Regions from separate parts of the Homo sapiens genome. Here all the other regions are linked to region 1. Evidence: promoter capture Hi-C in 16 types of primary human blood cells and fetal thymus (Javierre and others, 2016). All regions are on one chromosome and are shown on one strand. Each heading gives the region's core, a stretch centred on a gene start or on the middle of the fragment in contact. The rest is flanking DNA. Distances are from core to core; before and after follow the strand shown.

The links. Contacts are between HindIII fragments. The CHiCAGO score rates a contact against its expected background, and 5 or more counts as called.
Region 2: a fragment that was not itself captured here is called in contact with the fragment with the promoter of TMEM233 in region 1 in 2 of 17 cell types (endothelial precursors and erythroblasts); the score reaches 5.4 in endothelial precursors.
Region 3: a fragment that was not itself captured here is called in contact with the fragment with the promoter of TMEM233 in region 1 in 1 of 17 cell types (endothelial precursors); the score reaches 6.3 in endothelial precursors.

What each region holds. Positions count from the first base shown.
Region 1 is chr12:119,592,201-119,595,489 of GRCh38, forward strand. It overlaps TMEM233 (transmembrane protein 233), which reads left to right and starts at 1,574. Exons shown (of 3, transcript NM_001136534.3): 1 at 1,574-1,834. The coding sequence starts at 1,649. All of the region lies in intron 1 of PRKAB1-AS1 (PRKAB1, TMEM233 and CCDC60 antisense RNA 1), which reads right to left. RefSeq lists an enhancer at 1,562-2,135. The HindIII fragment of the contact is 1,075 bases long and covers 986-2,060 here.
Region 2 is chr12:118,404,444-118,407,732 of GRCh38, forward strand. All of the region lies in intron 10 of SUDS3 (SIN3A corepressor complex component SDS3), which reads left to right. Among named protein-coding and RNA genes, the nearest start is that of SUDS3, 30 kb to the left of the region's middle. RefSeq lists an enhancer at 555-604. The HindIII fragment of the contact is 1,213 bases long and covers 895-2,107 here.
Region 3 is chr12:118,422,910-118,426,198 of GRCh38, forward strand. No RefSeq gene overlaps it. Among named protein-coding and RNA genes, the nearest start is that of SUDS3, 48 kb to the left of the region's middle. The HindIII fragment of the contact is 2,531 bases long and covers 415-2,945 here.

The DNA.
Region 1 (3,289 bases), core at 324-2,823:
GTTGAGAATTCAGTAGATGAATCTAATCTTTTAGTTACTCCCATTTTATTAATCCATCAAAATGAGAAAGAAGGCATGGCGGAGAATGTACTATTTCATCTTTGTGTGTTCACCCAGCAAGCTATACTAAGCACCTCCCTTGTACCAGGAACTGTGCCAGATGCTGACACAAAGATGAGCCAGATGACCCCTTCTCTCGGGGAGTGTGCAGTCCAATGAGGGAGGCAGATAACAAAATAAGTATGGCTCATGAGATAAGTGAGAATCTCCCAGGCAATCAGCTTATATTCTGAGAAAGCCAAGAAGATGATTAATAGTTTCAAGTATGATGATGTGAGCAATTGCTTTTGACACTGCATGATCAAATTATTTTCATTTCTTTGTGGTCCTGCAGCTCAGAATACCTGGATTTTTGGTGAAATATTAGCAAGGGATATCAAGTTTAGGATACTGTATAATGCACTATATGTTTCAGAATATAAGGAGAAATAGTATGCTAATAATAGCTAATATTTATTGAGCACATGGATTGACCTGGATAATGTACCATCTCATAGAAGAGTCACTACGACTTTATGAGGCAGGGACTATTATTTCCCCTTTTTCAGATGGAGAAATAGGGGCTTAGCAAGATGAAGGGGCTTTCCTGAAGTGACAATTTCCTAGTTCTGTCTGGATTCAAGCTTCAGTTCTGGTCCATACGGCCCTCTCATGAATAGCTTAGACACTGATACAATTGCTTTTCTCACACTAGTCCCCAAAGTGGATACCTTGTTCTTCTTCCCAGCCCACTCATCCATCTAGGTTGCCTAGGCCAGCCTGATCTACCTGCATTTCTCCCCAGGGGTCCTGCAGGTGGAAAAGTGGAAAGAAGAATTCCTTGTTTCCACACTGGGGAGGGCACCTGGACGGGCATGGACCGGGCAGTGCCCACTGACTGACTATACTGGACTCCAGTCTCTTGAGCCCCAAGTAGAATGTGGAAAGCTTTGAGGCCAAAGCTGGGCACCTGGTTCCCACCCCACCTGGGGGAGGGGGTCGGGGGGAGGAGAAATTCCTGGGGCTCAGTGTTCAAGGTCTGAGGCACAGGAGACAAATCAAATGCCCAGGCACCAGACAGTTAAGGTAAAACGTTGAAGTCAAGAGGAAGTAGTGAGTCTGTTGCCAACTGGATAGGGTTGGTCCTGTCCCATCTAAATGTATTAGAATTAAGTGGCTTTTAAAAATGAGCTGGTCATCTTCAGCCCACGGGCTGGCCAATTTGGAACTTAATGGGCCTTTGCGTCCTCCTTCCCTGAGCCTCCTTTTATTCCAGACTTCTCAGTGTGAGTCTGTGCGTCCCTCCGACGATCTCAGGGAGTGGGGTGCCTTCATCTGCCTGTTCCCTGTTCCTCAGGCTGACGCTCCCGCTGTCCTCCCCGCCTCCCCTCACTCCTTTTCTCCCTCCCTTCCTCCTTGTGGGGAGGCTCTTGGCCAGGGTCCCTGAGCCCGGGCGGGTGCTGGCAGAGGACGCAGAAGGGGTGAGGTCACGTCTCCCTTGAGCCCCGAGCCGCTGGCTTTTCAGAGCCTCGCCACAAGCCGGCGGCCAGAGCCCCAGACCACACAGACCGTGCGCTCCTCCGCCCTCCCGGCGCCGCCGGCCTCGCCCATGTCTCAGTACGCCCCTAGCCCGGACTTCAAGAGGGCTTTGGACAGCAGTCCCGAGGCCAACACTGAAGATGACAAGACCGAGGAGGACGTGCCCATGCCCAAGAACTACCTGTGGCTCACCATCGTCTCGTGTTTTTGCCCTGCGTACCCCATCAACATCGTGGCTTTGGTCTTTTCCATCATGGTGAGTGAATCACGGCCAGAGGCAGCCTGGGAGGAGAGACCCGGGCGGCTTTGAGCCCCTGCAGGGGAGTCCGCGCGCTCTCTGCGGCTCCCTTCCTCACGGCCCGGCCCGCGCTAGGTGTTCTTTGTCCTCGCACCTCCTCCTCACCTTTCTCGGGCTCTCAGAGCTCTCCCCGCAATCATCAGCACCTCCTCTGCACTCCTCGTGGTACTCAGAGCCCTGATCAAGCTTCCCCCAGGCTAGCTTTCCTCTTCTTTCCAGCTCCCAGGGTGCGTTTCCTCTCCAACCCGGGGAAGTTCTTCCGTGGACTTTGCTGACTCCTCTGACCTTCCTAGGCACTTGCCCGGGGCTTCTCAACCCTCTTTTCTAGAGCCCCAGTGCGCGCCACCCTAGCGAGCGCAGTAAGCTCATACCCCGAGCATGCAGGCTCTACGTTCCTTTCCCTGCCGCTCCGGGGGCTCCTGCTCTCCAGCGCCCAGGACTGTCTCTATCTCAGCCTGTGCTCCCTTCTCTCTTTGCTGCGCCCAAGGGCACCGCTTCCGCCACTCTCCGGGGGGTCCCCAGGCGATTCCTGATGCCCCCTCCTTGATCCCGTTTCCGCGCTTTGGCACGGCACGCTCTGTCCAGGCAACAGTTTCCTCTCGCTTCTTCCTACACCCAACTTCCTCTCCTTGCCTCCCTCCGGCGCCCCCTTTTTAACGCGCCCGAGGCTGGCTCACACCCACTACCTCTTTAGGCCTTTCTTAGGCTCCCCGTGTGCCCCCCTCACCAGCAAAGTGGGTGCGCCTCTCTTACTCTTTCTACCCAGCGCGTCGTAGTTCCTCCCCGTTTGCTGCGCACTGGCCCTAACCTCTCTTCTCTTGGTGTCCCCCAGAGCTCCCAGGCGCCCCTCCACCGCTCTGTCCTGCGCCCGGGGCTCTCCCGGGAATGAACTAGGGGATTCCACGCAACGTGCGGCTCCGCCCGCCCTCTGCGCTCAGACCTCCCGAGCTGCCCGCCTCTCTAGGAGTGGCCGCTGGGGCCTCTAGTCCGCCCTTCCGGAGCTCAGCTCCCTAGCCCTCTTCAACCCTGGTAGGAACACCCGAGCGAACCCCACCAGGAGGGCGACGAGCGCCTGCTAGGCCCTCGCCTTATTGACTGCAGCAGCTGGCCCGGGGGTGGCGGCGGGGTGAGGTTCGTACCGGCACTGTCCCGGGACAACCCTTGCAGTTGCGCTCCCTCCCCCACCGGCTCACCTCGCCTGCAGCTGGGCCACGGAACTCCCCGGCCACAGACGCAGAGCCCTGATTCAGCGCTGTGAAAATCGCTAGCCACCCGTCCCCCATCAAGTCCGCCCACACTTGCCCACGGGTGGTGGCACCATATTCGATTCGTGGGCACCTGCAAGGCTCCATTTGCACCCGTAACTTGCCCTTTCCCAAACCCGGTTTGTGGACAGCGTCTGCACCGATATGA
Region 2 (3,289 bases), core at 251-2,750, 1.2 Mb before region 1:
TCAGACCGCCTAGCATTTTTCATTGGAAAGGTAATGGCAAAACAGTATGAAAGAACCTTAAAAGCTCATACTTTTGTTCATTCAACAAACATTTCTTCTGTTCTGTATTACGCTTTCTGCTAGATATGAAATGGATACTGCCATCATTTCTCAGGTCTTTTCATTCTGATATATTTCTTTTTATTCTTTATCCATATGCAGGCATAGTCTATTCATTCTAAGGCATAGTGGACATACGGTTTGCTTTGCCTTTCTGTTTGGTTATATTGAGAATGTTTTTCTGGGTTACTGTAAGGTGTCTCATTATCATTTATAATGGCTATATAATGACCCTTTGAGTTTCAGTATCTAACCAAAAGTTCCAAAATTGGGGTAATGATTATTTATTTTGAATTCTTAAAAAAACCCAGCATTGTGTTAGGTTGGTTACCCGATAACATTGTACTTGTCAAAAATGCTTAGGGTTCTAGTCATGGCCGAAGTAAATCATTTCCACCTATTAAGTTGCAGTGAGTTAATTGCCCAGTAGATGCTGGAGGCTGGCTTTATCTCTAAGGCTGATCTTGATGACTTCTTCCCCTCTGAGTTGGTGTTCTTTGGCATTCTTCAGAAAGGTCGGTTTGTGTTATATCTTAACATTATGTCTCAGAACACATCGCCACTAGGTGGCAGGCTCTAACAGCTTAACACTGAGAAGGGCAAAATGAGATGAAAAATGTTTCTAATAATGAAAACCAAATAACCTTTAAAGATCAAGCCCACACATAAGAACCATCTTTGAAAATGATGAGATTTATCACTAACATTTTTACAAATCTATGAGTCTTAAAGCCATGTGATATTTCCAGTGATGTTCATTTTGTAATTGTGTTGCTTTGAATCTTCCTCTTTCTAAGCTTAATCCTCAGACTTTACGAGACATGTCTTGAGGGTGAAAATGCAGTAAAATAAAATTCTTGTTTTTTTAAAGAAGAGATCCACAATGTCTGGTGTTTCCTAATGTAAACAAAATGATCAGATTTGATGTGTTAGAACTCCTAAGCATTTTGAAGGAATTTTCACCATCTTTCTTACATTAACAGCAGAAATTTAGAAAATAATGTCACTGGATGCATTTTACTTTTTCAGTGAAATTGAAATTGCTTATTCTCTTGTTAAATATACTTTGAGAATGTTGTTTTTTTTCTCTATTCTGTATACTTTTCATTTTTGGCCTTGGCAGTCAGAGATCATAATGCAGTTGTTGAAGGTGGGTCTCCCTCTTCCCCAATGACAATTGAAAAGTGTTCCTGGGAATACTGGCTGAGGTGTTCACTGGTGCAGTGCCAGCCTCTCCCATCTCACCAGGCTCATGTTTGGCTTTTGTATCAGTTTGGAGGTTTTGTTTTTCTTTCTTTGGCAGACGTGGCCTGTGGCTGAGAGGTCAGCTACATTGCTTTATGCTCTTTCCAGAGGGTATGGAGTATTTTGGTGCAGCCGTATTTTTGGCAGAAGATGTCTTCCTGAGTTTTAAATGACTTCAGCAAAACAAATGGGATTCAGGCATCGCATCTTGGTGTGAATACTTGCCAAGCTCCCTTTCATTTTGAAAGATAAGGATCTTCCCTTTGCCTTGGTCTTATACTGCTTTTAAGGCATTCTATATCATGCTATGTAAATTTGCCTCACATTTTGATTTGGACTAATGATCTCTCAAAAAATACTGTGAAAAAGTAGCTGATATTTGAAAATAACTAATTGATGGTACGGGTGGACTTCTGTTTTTCTCTCCTTGTTTTAAATCTGGGGCTGCCTGTGAGTCAGAAACGAAGCCACCCACTTGCTCAAGAGCATTTTCCCCTTCAGCCTTCGGTCGACACAAAAGACTTAAAACAGTGAATATTTACCAGTAGAATTGGGACTCCTTGAGGTTCTGTAGCTATAACGTGGACTCACTTATTGGGGAAATAAAGTGTTAATACCAGGATTCTCAGTAGGATACAAAATTAAATTAATTTTCCTACCTCCTCGCCCCACTTTTGTGTCCACCTTCTTAAGAAATTGCTTTTCGAAAATAGTACAGTAGTGGTAATTTCTAGTTTTGTTCGGTTTAATAGTAGAGGTTCAAAGCTTTAAGAACTTAATTGTAGAGATTCCCAGGTCAGAATTTCCATTAGTTACAAAGTAATAGAGTCAGTTTGACATTTGGGGCTTAGTCTTTGAGGCTATTTAAATATCTTTTTTCAGCAGCTGAGTTGCAGCTTGTAAAACAGGTTAATTGGCCTAAAAAAAAAACGCACATTTTTACTACCCTGTTGATGTTGCTTCGTAGCACATTTTATATCTAAACATATTTTTAAATTTCTTCCCCCCCCTTTGATTTTTCTTTAGAAATTAAAAAGTAAATTCTTATGTTAAGGTTGTCACATACTTCTTGGTTTCATCTTTAACCGCCCCCGCCCCCCCATATGAACACTTCATTTTTTATTTTTTTGAGACAGGGTCTCACTGTCCCCCAGGCTGGCATGCAGTGGTGTGATCATAGCTCACTGGAGCCTTGATCCCCCTGGCTCAAGCGATCTTCCCACTTTGGCCTCCCGAGTAGCTGGGACTACAGTCCTCCATTACCATGCCTGGCTAATGTTTTTTTGATTTTTAGTAGAGATGAGGTCTTGCTATGTTGCCCAGGCTGTCCTCAAACTCCTGAGCTGAAGTGATCCTCCTGCCTCAGCCTCCCAAAGTGCTGGGATTACAGGTATGAGCCCTGAACACTTTAATATCTAAGGACTTATCTTTTCAGAGAATTCAAATAATTTAATAGATTTGGTATCTAGGGATAATGGTTCCCCCAAGACATCGTGTAGTGCATGAGGATCCCTTGAAGGTCTCAGAGACTGCGGTTCAGGAGGGACCTGGTGATCAGTTGGTTTGGAAGTTGGCTGCTTTGGGAAGCATGTTGGCCACCTCTACTTTGGAGCAAATAGGGACCAATGGTGGACATTCAGGCCACCACCATTCAGTGATTCCAAAGGAGGCGGATCTGGGAGGTGGCCACATTCCCAAGTTCCAGACCACTTCCCAGAGGTAATAGACCAGCTTGCATTGTTTACTCTGGGTGTTCGCTTTTAAGTCAGTTGAATTTCTTGGGTTTGGGTTCTAAGTACCACTGAAGGAAAATACAATGCATCTCATGAGAATTGTTGGAATAGCCTTCCAGAGTCAGCTGTTTTCTTTAAAAGACCTTTGTGAGGATATGATACATGGATACACATGTAACATGTATATGTGTTATTTTTGGTTTTTTTTTTTT
Region 3 (3,289 bases), core at 430-2,929, 1.2 Mb before region 1:
GCTCGGATTACAGGCGTGAGCCGCCACGCCTGGCCACAAGCCTTGAACTTTAAAACCAGTTTGCTCCCTGTTTGGTTATCTTTTTGCCCTTTCCCATCGAGGACTCGCCTTCCTTTCCTTTCTGCCTCTCTCCTTTCTTCTCCCCACTGTGCCTGCCCTGCTTGCTCTTCTTCCCCTTTCTGTCACCAGTGCAGTGGCTCATGGCTGACCTGCAGTGATGCTTTCCAATTTCACACTAACATGCTCCTGAAAGTATTAATAAGCTAACTCATATGTAAAACCAATAAAGGGCAACAGCACACATTCCTGTTAGACAGTAATTTTACCTGATTCCCTTTCTCCTACTTTGATCAGTCCTCTTCTCTCAAACATGGTTCTTTGACCTTCCCAGAAGTGAAAGCTTATGGGAATTCAAGCTTGGTGGAGCCCTGCGGGCATATTAGGAAGGAATAAGGGCTCAAATTTATTGAGCACTTATGATGTGTTTGGGTGAGGGCTAAGTACTTTTTATACATTATTGTATTTAATATACTAAACTGCCCTGTGATGTGTGTCTTCGTGATTTCCATTTTACAGATGATGAAAATGAGGCTTGAGGAGGGGAAGTGTTCACCTCTGCACCACGTTCACACATTTCCTTTCCCCTTTGGCTTCTGTCTTCCTAATGTAGATGGCCAAAGCATAAAGGACCCTTAGTTGTCATCTTAGCCAACCCCTTCCATTTTTCGCTTCTGGAAACAGACGCCAAGCTAGAACTCAGTTCTTGTAACTCTCAATTCAACAATCTAAATGGAGAAAAGAAATCCAGTTGTGAGACTCAGAGGCAGGGGCTTGAGACAGGTTTGAATCTGGATTGAACTCTGCTGCTTACAAGCTGTGTGAACTTAGGCAAATCACATAACCTCTCGGGGCTCCAGTTTCCTCATCTAGAAAGTGGGACTAATAATAGCAAGGTTTATTGTCAAGATTAAATGAAGTCATGCAAGCAAAACAATATAATAACTATTGTGCTTCAAACAAACTCTGTAGGTCACTTGAGTGCTTTAGAAAATATAACCTGGCCAGGTGTGGTGGCTCACACCTGTAACCCCAGCACTTTGAGAGGCTGAGGTGGGAGGATCACTTGAGCCCAGCAGTTTGAGACTAGGCTGGGCAACATGATGAAATGCTGTATCTACGAAAATTATCCAGGCGTGGTGGTGTGTGCCTGTAGTCCTAGCCACTCAGGGCCTGGGGTGGGAGGATTGCTTGAGCCCGGGAGGTTGAGGCTGCAGTGAGCCATGATCGCACCACTGCACTCCAGCTTGGGAGACACAGACCCCATCCCAAAAACCAAACAAACAGAAAATGTAGCCCACACCATGCCCGTGCCGGGTGGGCATGGTTATCACAGGGATTGCCTACCCCAACTCCTGCCCCACCTGCTCAGGCAGGTCCCATTGTGCCTCAAGGATAAGCCCATGGTGAACTTCCAAGGGTACGCCATCCAGGGAAGGCCAACAGAAGCCACTAGTCAAGTGGCTTGACTAGTTCAAGACAAGCAGATCTCCAGGCATCTGTTTTCATCTTGTTAACCTTCTCACTAGAGAAGAGTTTGAATTGCTGCCTCTCTGGGTGTGTGGAGATAGCCACTGGATTGTGAGCCAGAGAGGACAGGGACTGGGGCTTTTTGTTTTTCCTCCAAATCTCCCAACACGAGTACATTGTAGGTGCCCATTGAGTGCTTGCTGAATGGAGGAATGGTTAGCTACTGCCTCCTACTTCTCGTTGCAGGACATCAATATCTTTCTAAAATCATAGTAATGTGAAGGCTATCCAGAAAGTCAAAAGGTTCCACAGAGTTGGCCACAAAACAGAGTAGCCCCCTGCCCTCTGCTTTATTTCCCCCTCCCAGAGATTATTTTATCTCTTTTGGCTGATTATTTTATCTCTTTTAGCTGATTATTTTGGTATCTAGTATCTATTTCTAAATAGGCTGCTTATTATTAAAGCTAGATATTTCAGTTCCAGGCGTTATCTACTAAATTCCCACTGTGGGGTCATCCTTCGCTCTCCCAATGTAGTTATTTCAGGATTTTCGTTAGGTCAGTATTCAACGTTTATGTTATTATGACTATGTAAATGCTAGTTGCAGCTGAGCCGTGTTGTACACTATGATTGCTTTATCTTTCCTTGACAGCTTTTCCCCCCGGGAGTTAATAACTGTCTTTTTTTTTCTTTTTGTTGTTTGCTTAGTTTTCTGTGTACTTATTACTAATTCGACCTTAAACTCTTCACCAAGTGCCCAAATTCTCCCCCTAAGGCATTCTGATGCACCAGGAATTCCAGCAATTTTGTTACCTTGAAAAATCTTCCTTCTTGAGGACCCCAATTTGCTCTGCACTGGACTGGTTCCTCCTGGCGTGGCACACAGCTGTCACTCTGGAGTTCCTGCATCACCATGCTAGAGCTCCCTTATCCCTTCTTTGGGTTTGAATCTTTCATTTTTTGTCTTCCTGTTTCTTCCTGTTTGTCTTCCTGTTTCTCTACTTTACTCGCCCATTTTGTTAAAGCACATTTCCAGCCACTTCCCAAGCAGGGTTGAAAAGACTTTCATTCTGTTCTTCTAAGTACTTGGCACTTAAAGTATATTTTAACCACCCCACCCGTTCCTTCATTTTCATTTCATTTCCTCGTGCTGTTCATTCATTATTGTTGGCATTCTCCACTGTCAGTCTTAAGACGCAGATGTTTGCATGTCTGTGTTAATCTACTTTCCATCCACTAAAATTTGGTTGTTTCTTCTGCAATGCCCTTTATTTTGGTGGGTTTAATTCTAGTCTGGACATTTTTCTTCAAGATTTTGAAGACATTGTTTTATTGCTTTTAGCTTCCAATGTTGCCCTTGAGAAGTCAGAATTATTCTGACTATTGATTCTTCTAGATGACTTCTTAACATCTCTGGAAGCTTATAGCATTCTCAGTGTTTTGAAGTTTCATGATGATGGGCCTTGGTGTGGGCCCACTATGTTAAGCTGTTAGGAGGTCTTTCTTTCTTTTTATCATCTGGGGAGAATCAGTGCTTATGAGGGTTTTTCAATTCTGAAAATGTATGCCCTTATATTCTGGGGGAGAAATATATATATAATGTGATAGTCAGCCTCCAAATGGCTTCCAGTGATCCTGTCTCTGGTAGTCACACCCTTGTGCAGTTTACCCTTGTACTGGACCAGGGTTGATCTCTGTGACCAATAGCCTACAGCAGAAATGATAGTATGTCACTTCTGAGATTGGGGTATGAAAGATAGTG